Regions from separate parts of the Homo sapiens genome. Here regions 1 and 3 are each linked to region 2. The links are contacts of gene promoters, found by promoter capture Hi-C in human tissues and cell types (Jung and others, 2019). All regions are on one chromosome and are shown on one strand. The core of a region is centred on a gene start or on the middle of the fragment in contact, and the rest is flanking DNA. Distances in the headings are between cores, read along the strand shown.

Evidence for each region. Contacts are between HindIII fragments. The study calls those that stand out against the background at their distance.
Region 1: a contact is called between a fragment that was not itself captured here and the fragment with the promoter of FABP3 in region 2, in 2 of the 25 tissues and cell types used here (H1 embryonic stem cells and thymus).
Region 3: a contact is called between a fragment that was not itself captured here and the fragment with the promoter of FABP3 in region 2, in 1 of the 25 tissues and cell types used here (IMR-90 fibroblasts).

Annotation. Positions count from the first base shown.
Region 1 is chr1:31,198,387-31,201,551 of GRCh38, forward strand. The region is part of intron 1 of NKAIN1 (sodium/potassium transporting ATPase interacting 1); the gene reads right to left. Among named protein-coding and RNA genes, the nearest start is that of NKAIN1, 40 kb to the right of the region's middle. RefSeq lists an enhancer at 108-608. The HindIII fragment of the contact is 6,249 bases long and covers 1-3,165 here.
Region 2 is chr1:31,371,371-31,374,627 of GRCh38, forward strand. FABP3 (fatty acid binding protein 3) reads right to left here and starts at 1,706. Exons shown (of 4, transcript NM_004102.5): 1 at 1,572-1,706. The coding sequence starts at 1,644. It overlaps LOC124903892 (a long non-coding RNA gene), which reads left to right and starts at 2,929. Exons shown (of 2, transcript XR_007065573.1): 1 at 2,929-3,017. RefSeq lists a silencer at 1,892-2,186. The HindIII fragment of the contact is 11,361 bases long and covers 1-3,257 here.
Region 3 is chr1:31,602,912-31,606,005 of GRCh38, forward strand. No RefSeq gene overlaps it. Among named protein-coding and RNA genes, the nearest start is that of HCRTR1, 13 kb to the right of the region's middle. RefSeq lists an enhancer at 2,348-3,094. The HindIII fragment of the contact is 3,458 bases long and covers 1-3,094 here.

The DNA of each region.
Region 1 (3,165 bases), core at 489-2,988, 170 kb before region 2:
CTCCATATGCCCAAACCTGGTCCATGTCCAGTGTTTTGGGCCCCACGATGTGTCCAGCCGCTTGAGCTAGGAACCTAAACTTTAGGTTTCAGTCTCCCTCATGCTCCCCACTTGTTCCACGTCCCCCACTCGCCGCAGCCCATCCTCAAGCCCTGGCTCTCTGGGATCTTCCAAATCTCTCATATCTGGCCACTTTTTTCCGTCCACTTTCTTTCACCTAGCAATGCCAACCCCCCTGCCCTCCACCCTACTTCAAACCTAACTGGCCCTTCTGCTCTCCAGAGTGGGGCCTCCCTGAGGCTCCCTGCTGCCCTTCCCCCTGCCCTTCGCTCCCCGCCCCCACCCCTAATTATTTATTTATCAGGTAGCTGCCAGCTGAAGGGGGATGCCGTTGCCATAGGAACCTTCAGCCCCGAGTCAGGGCTGCCTCTGTTCTCAGTAGGATGCTCTTGTCTGTCTAGACGCCAACCCCAGGAGCCCACACAAGGTGGGGAGTGAGGGACAAGGGCTGAATAATGCAGATGGGCCCACCCTAGCTCCAGGAAGCTGGCTGGGAGAGAAGGTAGCGTAGGGCCCAGGCTCAGGGCCATTGAACCCATCAGAAGTCTCTCGTGCCCCACCCTTGCCAGCCAATTTGGCAAGTCAACTACTTTCCTGGCCAAAATTCCAGCCATGTCACCATAGGCCTTAGACACAGAAGTCAGCCTGTCTGGGGAAAGATGAGGGATGGACCCTTGAAGTTTCTGGAGAAAGCTTTGGTCCAGCCTGGTTCTGTCTCTCTCACTGACTTCAGTCCACTGAGGGACGAGCTCTCCATTTAAGGACAGGGAGGCCTGAGTTCCAGCCCCAGTTCTCATCGACTCACTGTGTGACCTTCGGCAAGTTATCCCCCTCTCTGAGCCTCAGTTTTCTCATTAGTGAAATGTCCTGAGGATTCAGACAGTGCCCATAAAGCTCGCAGCCAGCCGGATGTCTGGCACGCAGTTGGTGCTGACTATATGGCAACAGCTTTTGTTGCATCCCCAACCTCAGACCCCCCTTTTCCCAATGGATTTCTGAGGCAGCTGACAAAATTAAACTCGACTCAACCCCTCATCTGTGAAATGAGGGAGTGGGATGAAAGCCGCAGACAACAGAGCTGGAAGGACCCCTGAGATCTGCTGGCCCAACCCCCTCATTAGGGAGGTGAGCAAACTGACAGCAGAGGGGGCAGTGATGTGCCTGAGGGGAGGTGCTCCTCCCTCTCCCCATCTCCGGGGGTCCATCTGGGGTCATTGCCATCTGAGCATGAGTTGAAATGAGATTTAACTCAACATAAGATTAAAAGGAACAGTCACAGAGACCAAGTGGTCTTTGACCCTGCCAAAGAAGATGGGCCCAGTAAGGACTCAATTCATTGAGCAAATATTTCTTGAGCACCTACAATGTGCCGGGCCCTGGACATATGGCAGTGAACAACATGGCGTGTATCCTGCCTCAGAGAGCTCGTCTGGAGACAGAGACCACTGTCCTCTGGGAGCTGATGAGCTGATGATGGGGGCTTCTCTGCCAGGTTCCCCTCCACTGTGCCTAGGGACCTGTGAAGATGCCTCCCTGGTCCCCGAACACACACACACGCACACACATGCACACACACACGCACACACACACACATGCACACGTGCACACACGCACGCGCACGCACGAACACATGCGCGCACACGCATTCACACACACGCACGCACGCACACCCCTCTCTCCTGTCTTTCTTCCAGGGCTTTTGCAGCCTTGCTGCCTCTCTATCCCAGCCCGGATCCCACTGGGAAATGGCCACGGCCATCACTGTTAGGTGAAAAAAGCAAGCTGCAGAGCAACATGATTCCGTTCGTGTAAACACCTCCCCTAAAAGGCACCAAACGCGTGCGACTGTAAACACAGGACCAAAAGCCAGGGAGTTATCTCATAACAATAAACAGTTATGAGATGTTATTTCTAGGGAGTGGGGAGATGGGGAGACTTTGAATCTTAACTATATGCACTTCTATAGTTCCGGAATGTCTTACAACAAAGTTGGACCAGAAGTCTCCTCTCTCTTTTTTTTTTTTTTTTTTTGAGACAGGGTCTTGCTGTTGTTCATGCTGGAGTGCAGTGGCATGATCCGGGCTCACTGCAGCCTCAGCCTCCTGGGATCAAGTGATCTTCCCACCTCAGCCTCCTGAGTAGTTGGGACTACAGGCAGCTGCCACCCACACTTGGCTATTTTTTAAACTTTTTTGTAGAGACAAGGGTCTCACTATATTTCCCAGGCTGGTCTCGAACTCCTGAGCTCAAGTGATCCTCCCCTGCCTTGGCCTCTCAAGGTGTTGGGATTACAGGTGTGAGCCACTGTGCCCGGCCACATTTATTTATCTCCTATTTGATCTAGACAGTATTCTGAGTACATAACATGTATTCGTCTTATAAACATTTCTCGAGTGCCTTTTTTTTTTTGACAGTCTCGCTCTGTCGCCCAGGCTGGAGCGCAGTGGTGCGATCTCAGCTCACTGCAACCTCCGCCTCCCTGGTTCAAGCAATTCTCTGCCTCAGCCTCCTGAGTAGCTGGGATTACAGGTGACTGCCACCATGCCTGGCTAATTTTTGTATTTTTAGTAGAGACAGGGTTTTGCCATCTTGGTCAGGCTCACGCTCCCAGCAATTTGGGAGGCGAAGGCGGGTGGATCACGAGGTCAGGAGTTCGAGTGCCTCTTGTGTGCTAAATCCCGAGAACACAGTGGTGAATACAGTGCACCCAGCTCCTGTCCTCTTGGGGATGACAGTCTTGCCCTTTCCCTCCTCAGAGCAGACACCAGTAACATCTGTCCCATTAGGAAACAAAACAAACCAAATCTCCCAGAAGATCAGTAACCTCTCTCAAGGGGTCTACCTTAGGATACTTTATGGAGCACTCATTGTCTATAAACCTCATGCTCATGTCACACCTTTTAATCCTACCCTATTTTTTTTTTTTTTTTGAGACGGAGTCTCTCTCTGTCGCCGAGGCTGGAGTGCAGTGGCACTATCTCAGCTCACTGCAAGCTCTGCTTTCCGGGTTCACGCCATCCTCCTGCCTCAGCCTCCCAAGTAGCTGGGACTACAGGTGCCCGCCACCATGCCCGGCTAATTTTTTTTTGTATTTTTAATAGAGAC
Region 2 (3,257 bases), core at 456-2,955:
CACTGCGGGATGAGTGAGGGTCTGAACCAAGAGAAACTAAGAATATTGAGCTGACAGAATTTAGGAGACTCAGGGAGATCTGGGTTCTACTTAGAAATGAAGCCAGCACTACTTACTGAGAGCTGAGGAGGGTATTTTCCCAGGCTTTCCATTCCTACGATGAGAATGCTGGCTGCCTTAACATAAGCTGCTGAAAGATAACAGGACTTCAGGGAGACCAGCCCGCTGACCCAACTCGGGGCAGAATAAGGGAACAAGAATGGTAAAGTTGTTGCAGCTCAATTCAAGACTCAGCTCTGGCCCAGCTTTGGAAGGAGGAACTAAATCTGGGCATTCCAACTTCCCAATAGCTGCTGGGCTGTGTTCGTGGGGGCTGGGGGCTGCTCCTCTAAGAATGACTGCCTGCCTAGAATTACTGGGCATAGCGCCCAAGATAGGGTAGAGGCCGTTGAGAGCTTTGACCTCTCCATCTAAGCCCAAAGCAGTAGAAGAAGGGCTGAGGTCAATCATTAGCTAAGCAGTTTCTACTTTTCTTCCCACTCGCAGGGCCTGTAGGGTAGTGGGAAGAGCTCTGGGTTACAGATCTAGAAACCTTAGATTTTCATATTGGCTCTGCTGTGGAATTGTTATAATACATTTCTACTCTCCTGGTTTCAGTTTCCCTGTTGAACTAGATGGTATGGGAATCTCCAAGTTCCTCACCTGTGAGATTCTTTGAATCCTGATTCTTCTCCATCCCAACACCACAGCAGTTCTCCACATCCTCCTAAACCAGTGATCCTCCCTCCCAGGTCTTGACCTTGCCTTGGGACCCTCTACTGCACATCAGAAGTCCAATGGCTTTCTCTGCCTACCCCTCGCACAGATAGGTGAGCCTTGGGTTGCAGGAAAGGCCCAGCTGATCATGGGCCTCTTGCCCCACCCTACCACGAGGCTCACAGACAGTGATGAAGGCCTGGATACATAGACTGCAGGACAAGGTCAGACTGGCTGGTGAGAAAGGGCATTCTCCAGCAAGAATTCTCTTCCCTAACCAAGCAGAGATGGGGATTGCTGCTTACTGCAGGTTCCTGTCTTACGTCCTTCTCATATCTGATTCACTGATCCACAGTTTTTTCCCCACTAATCTTTTTCCTCCTAGGTATTTCCTACTTGTTTACATCATTGTACACTCCCTGGCTGCCCCATTCCCTTTCTGGGTTCAGTCTCCTCCAATTTCTAAACTACCCATGCCCCTGTTCTTTTTCTCCCCTGGCTACACTCCCTTTCCTGTGATCAGTGTTCTTTATCCAAACCCTCCTCCTACCTCCAAATCACATATCCCTCTTCCTGGAAAGAGCCTCCCACACAGCTGCCTCCTTCCACCACCTCCCTACCGTGGTCTCTAACCAGATTTGGACCACCAAAGCCCCCTCTGAACAGGCCCCACCTGCTCTAGGCCAGGCTGCCATCTCCGCGCTCCCCTATTCCCCAGTCTTAACCAGGAGGGATGCGGCAGGAGTGCTGCGTGGGGCTAGGCACGCCACCAGCCAGTCCCCAAGCCAACATCCTGAGCCCCGCGGCTTGCTCACCGAGTGACTTCATGTAGTCATCGAAATTCTTGCTGTCCACTAGCTTCCAGGTGCCCAGGAAAGCGTCCACCATAGTGATGCTGGGCTAGGCTGAGAGAAGCTACAAGAGAGCAGGCGTGCAAGGGCTCCGACGGCGGCTCCCTGCCCGGGCTGCCGCTTTAAATAGCCCTCGCATCACATGAGGAGACGTGGCCCACGCCCCCGGCTCCCGAAATAGGAAGCCCCAGGCTAGGGCTCACCCAGGAGGGGCTGGTGCGCCCATCCCCCAACCCACCGAGGTGGGTGGGGACCAGCCAGTGGCGCCCTGCTAGCCTGCGTCAGCGCCAGTGCCTGGCCCCCGAGTCCCTACCCCAGGCTGGTAGGACCTTCTCCCTTTCCTGGCCTCTAGGCACTCTGGAATCTGAGAAGGAAGCAGCCAACACCAGCCCGAGAGCTAGGGCGCATGCCATGGTGGATATCTTCCCGTCCCCCAGTCCCTCTTTGAGCTTAGCGTCAGAGCAGAGATGAGACTAGAAAAGCAAAACGCCCTTGGGCTGGTGCCCACGCCGGGGAAAGCTCTGGTTGACTTCTGGCACGGGCATCTGTCCTCGTTTTACAAGTGAGGAGTCCGAGGCTCACAGGGGAACTGACAAGGTCTCAAGAAATAGGAGGGGGTGAATGGAGCTCAGATTGCAAGCTTAGTCTAGCGGGCTTCAGAGCTCGCGCTCTCCCTTCACTCTCACTGCCTGGTGGCGGAGACAGTCACCAGCGGCTCGGTCTGCGGCTGAGCTGACCTTGTCCTCTGCCTGTTTTGAGCAAAAGCCTGACCCTTCGCGCCCCGCCCGCCTCACACGTGCTTGCCCCTCCCTGCGGAATGTCTCCTGCTGGCCCTCCTCCGTCCCCACCCCACCCCACCATCTAGCTCCCCACCCGCCCCTGCAAGTGCTCTGGGCTTTTCCGGTTTCTTCGCACAGCTCCGAGCTTTAGCTCAGGTCGTTCCCAGCTCCCCTCCTGCAGAAATTCTGCCAATTCGGTCAGCTCTTCAAGGCCCATGGCTGCCTTCCCCACCTGCCGCCCTTTCTTTGGCCTGTGCACACTAGCAAGCCGCCTGCACTTTTGGGTAATTTGCTGCCTCCTTTCGAGAGCCTGTTGTGCGGTGGTTTGTCACTGTATAGTTTACTAAGCACTTTCAGTAAAAATAAGACCTGCCTTGTCTTGCTATTTATTGCATGCTGAGGGCTTTGGGTGTATTGTTTCATTGAACTTTTTATTTTATTATTATTTTTTAGAGACAAAGTCTCTCGCTGTGTCTCCCAGGCTGGAGTACTGTGACGCCATCATAGCTCACTGCAGCCTCAAACTCCGGGGCTCAGGGGATCCTCCTACCTTAGCCTCCCCAGCAGCTGGGACTATAGGCACACGCCACCACACCTGGCCTCATTGGACTTTTAAAGCAAAATCCATGAAGTAGGTGTTACTGTATTATTTTCTCTTTTTAAAAAGGTGAACAAGTTGAAGCTCTGAGGAGCTCACTCATTAATTCAGCAGTTAATAAAGCACCTACTTTGTGCCAGGCCCTGCTTTGGAGAGAGACAACAGGGAACAAGACACACATTCACCTCTGGGCAGCCAGACATAAAACTAGCGTGGTGCCTCTAAAGGGAGTCCTGTCCTGTCCTGACCTGAGGGCCCAATGTAGACTTCTCA
Region 3 (3,094 bases), core at 467-2,966, 230 kb after region 2:
AACCTACTGTGCTTTTCAAATATGTATATATATATATACATATATATATATATATATTTTTTTTTTTTTTAGGTGGACTCCCTCTTTCACCCAGGCTGGAGTGCAGTGGCATGATCTCGGCTCATCACAACCTCTGCCTCCCAGGTTCAAGTGATTATCTGCCTTAGCCTCCCGAGTAGCTGGGATTACAGATGCCTGCTACCATGCCCAGCTAGTTTTTGTACTTTTAGTAGAGACTGGGTTTCACCATGTTGGCCAGGCTGATCTCAAACTCCTGACCTCAAGTGATCCACCCATCTCGGCCTCCCAAAGTGCTGGGATTACAGGCACGAGCCACCGTGCCCGGCCTCAAATTTTTTTAATTGTGAAATACAGCACAATATGGAAAGGCATATCAAATACAATTGCACAGCTTAAATAACAATTATAAAGCAAACATCTACATAATCCCCCAGGTCATAAAGTAGAAGATGATAGGCACTCCTAAAAGCTCCCTGTGTATATCCCATCACAATCCCTTACTTTCTCTCTTAAAGGAAACCATTACCCTGACCTTATGGTAATCATTGTCTTGCTTACTTTTTATGGCTTTGTCCTCTGTGCATGCCTAAAGATGTGTTTTAACCTGTTTTTGGATTTTATATAAATGGAATCTTACAGTGTGTATTATTTTTGTCATGCTTTCTTACTCTACATTGCATTTTTTAAGATTTATTCTTTTTGTTATGAATAAATATCATATGTTTATTTTCACCACTGTATACTATTCCATTATATGAATATAACACAACTTACTCATACATAGTTTTGTTGATAAATATCTGATTGTTTCCAGCTTGTGGCTATTATAATGTTGTTTCTCACCTGATACTCAGCCCAGACACCAGGTTTTCTTTCTTTTCTTTAATTTCAGTATCTCATTTTCCTTTCTATTGTCTCTATTTAGTTGTTTTTTTCCACATCTACCTCATCACTTTTTTTTTTTTTTTTTTTGAGACAGTGTCTCCCTCTGTTGCCCAGGCTGGAGTGCAGTGGCATGCATGATCATGGCTCACTGCAGCCTCTACCGCCTAGGCTCAAGCAATTCTCCCACCTCAGCCTCCTGAGTAGCTGGGACCACAGATGTGTGCCACCATGACCGACTAATTTTTTTTTATTATTATTTGTAGAGACTAGGTCTCGCTATGTTGCCCAGGCTGATCTCAAACTCCTGGGCTCAAGCAATCCTCCTGCCTTGGCCTCCCAAAGTACTGGGATTACAGGTGTGAGCCACTGTGCCCGCCCTGCCTGATCATTTTTTAGAGTATCTTTTTGCTTGCTCATTTTCGTAATTTGATGTTATATTTACTAAAATATTTTATTCACAATTATGGTGTTTTATATTCCATGTTTGATAAATCCAATATCGGAAGTCTTTGGGGTCTAAGTTTATTATTTATGGTTTCTAGCTGGCTCTCAGTCATGGTGACTTGATTCCTTGGGAGTTTTGTTAACAGTGTGATACAGGTATATACTTCTCTTTCTTCCACACGGAAAACCAGTTTTCCCACCACCAGGTATTGGAGGGAATTGATTTAAATGCCACCTCTGACATAGGTTGAACTTCCAGTCTGCATAGCTCTGTTTCTGAGCTTTCAGCTCTATCTCATCCAGTTATTTGTACATCCCTCTACCAATACCTCCCTGCCTTAATGACTTTGGTTGTATACATCTTGTTATGTGGAGGGTGATTCTCCTCGTTTTGTTAATTTTCTTCAAAATTACCTTGGCTACTCTTAACTATTTGTTCTTTCATATGACCTTAGGATAAGCTTGACATGTTTCCCAAGATATTAATTTTAAAAAACTCTTCTTTGAACCTCTTATTGAAAGTAAAATAAATTTATAGGTTAATTTAAAAATAACATCTTTACAATTAAGTGTTTTCTTCTATGAGCAAGTTATACTTCTCCATTTATCTGGGTCTCTTGAATGACCATCAAGAAAGTTTTAGGCCAGGCATGGTGGTTCATGCCTGTAATCCCAGCACTTTGGGAGGCTGAGGTGGATGGATTGCTTGAAGTCAGGAGTTCGAGACCAGCCAGGCCAACATGGTGAAACCCCGTCTCTACTAAAAATACAAAAATTAGCTGGGCATGGTGGCAGGCTCCTGTAGTCCCTGCTACTCAGGAGGCTGAGGCAAGGGAATCTGTTGAACCCTTGAGGCGGAGGTTGCAGTGAGCCGAGATCGTGTCACTGCACTCCAGCCTGGGCAACAGAGCAAGACTCCATCTCAAAAAAAAGAAAAAGAAAGTATAATTTTCTCCATAAAAATATTGCTTATCTCTTAGGTTTATTCCAAGATATCCCATAGTTTTTTTTAATGCTTTTATAAATGGTGTCTTTTATAAATAGCATTTTATGTTTGTTGCTTAACAGCTGGGATGTGTTCCGAGAGAGGATTTTATTGTTGTGTGAACATCACAGAGTGTACTTACCCACACTTAGATGAGATAGCCTACTACAAGTACACCTAGACTACGTGGTACAGCCTGTTGCTCCTAGGATACAAACCTGTACAGCATGTTATTATACTGTTACTGTAGGCAATGCAATGGTGAGTAGCTGTGTATCGAAAAATATTTAAACATAGAGAGGTTACAATAAAAATATATTATGAAAGATTTTTAAATGGTACATCTGTATAGGGCACTTACTATGAGTGAAGCTTGCAGAACTGGAAGTTGCTTGAGTGTCAGTGAGTGGTGAGTGAACGCGAAGGCCTAGCACATTACTATACACTACTGTAGACTTTATAAACTGTACACTCAGGCTACACTAAATATGTTTTTAAAATTTTCTTTAAAAATAAATTAACCTTCGCTTCAGTAACTTTTTTACTTTATTAAAACTTTTTGATTCTTAAAAACTTTTTGCCAGGCGTGTTGGCTCATGCCTGTAATCCCAACATTTTGGGAGGCAGAGGTGGGAGGAGGCCAGCCCAGATCCTTAGCTGTCACAGTATTGTGGATGCTGGCAGAAGACTTGAGAGTCTTGGGTCAGAGACAAAGGACTTTATTACTCACAGCCCAGGAAGTAGCATCAGTTTCATGTC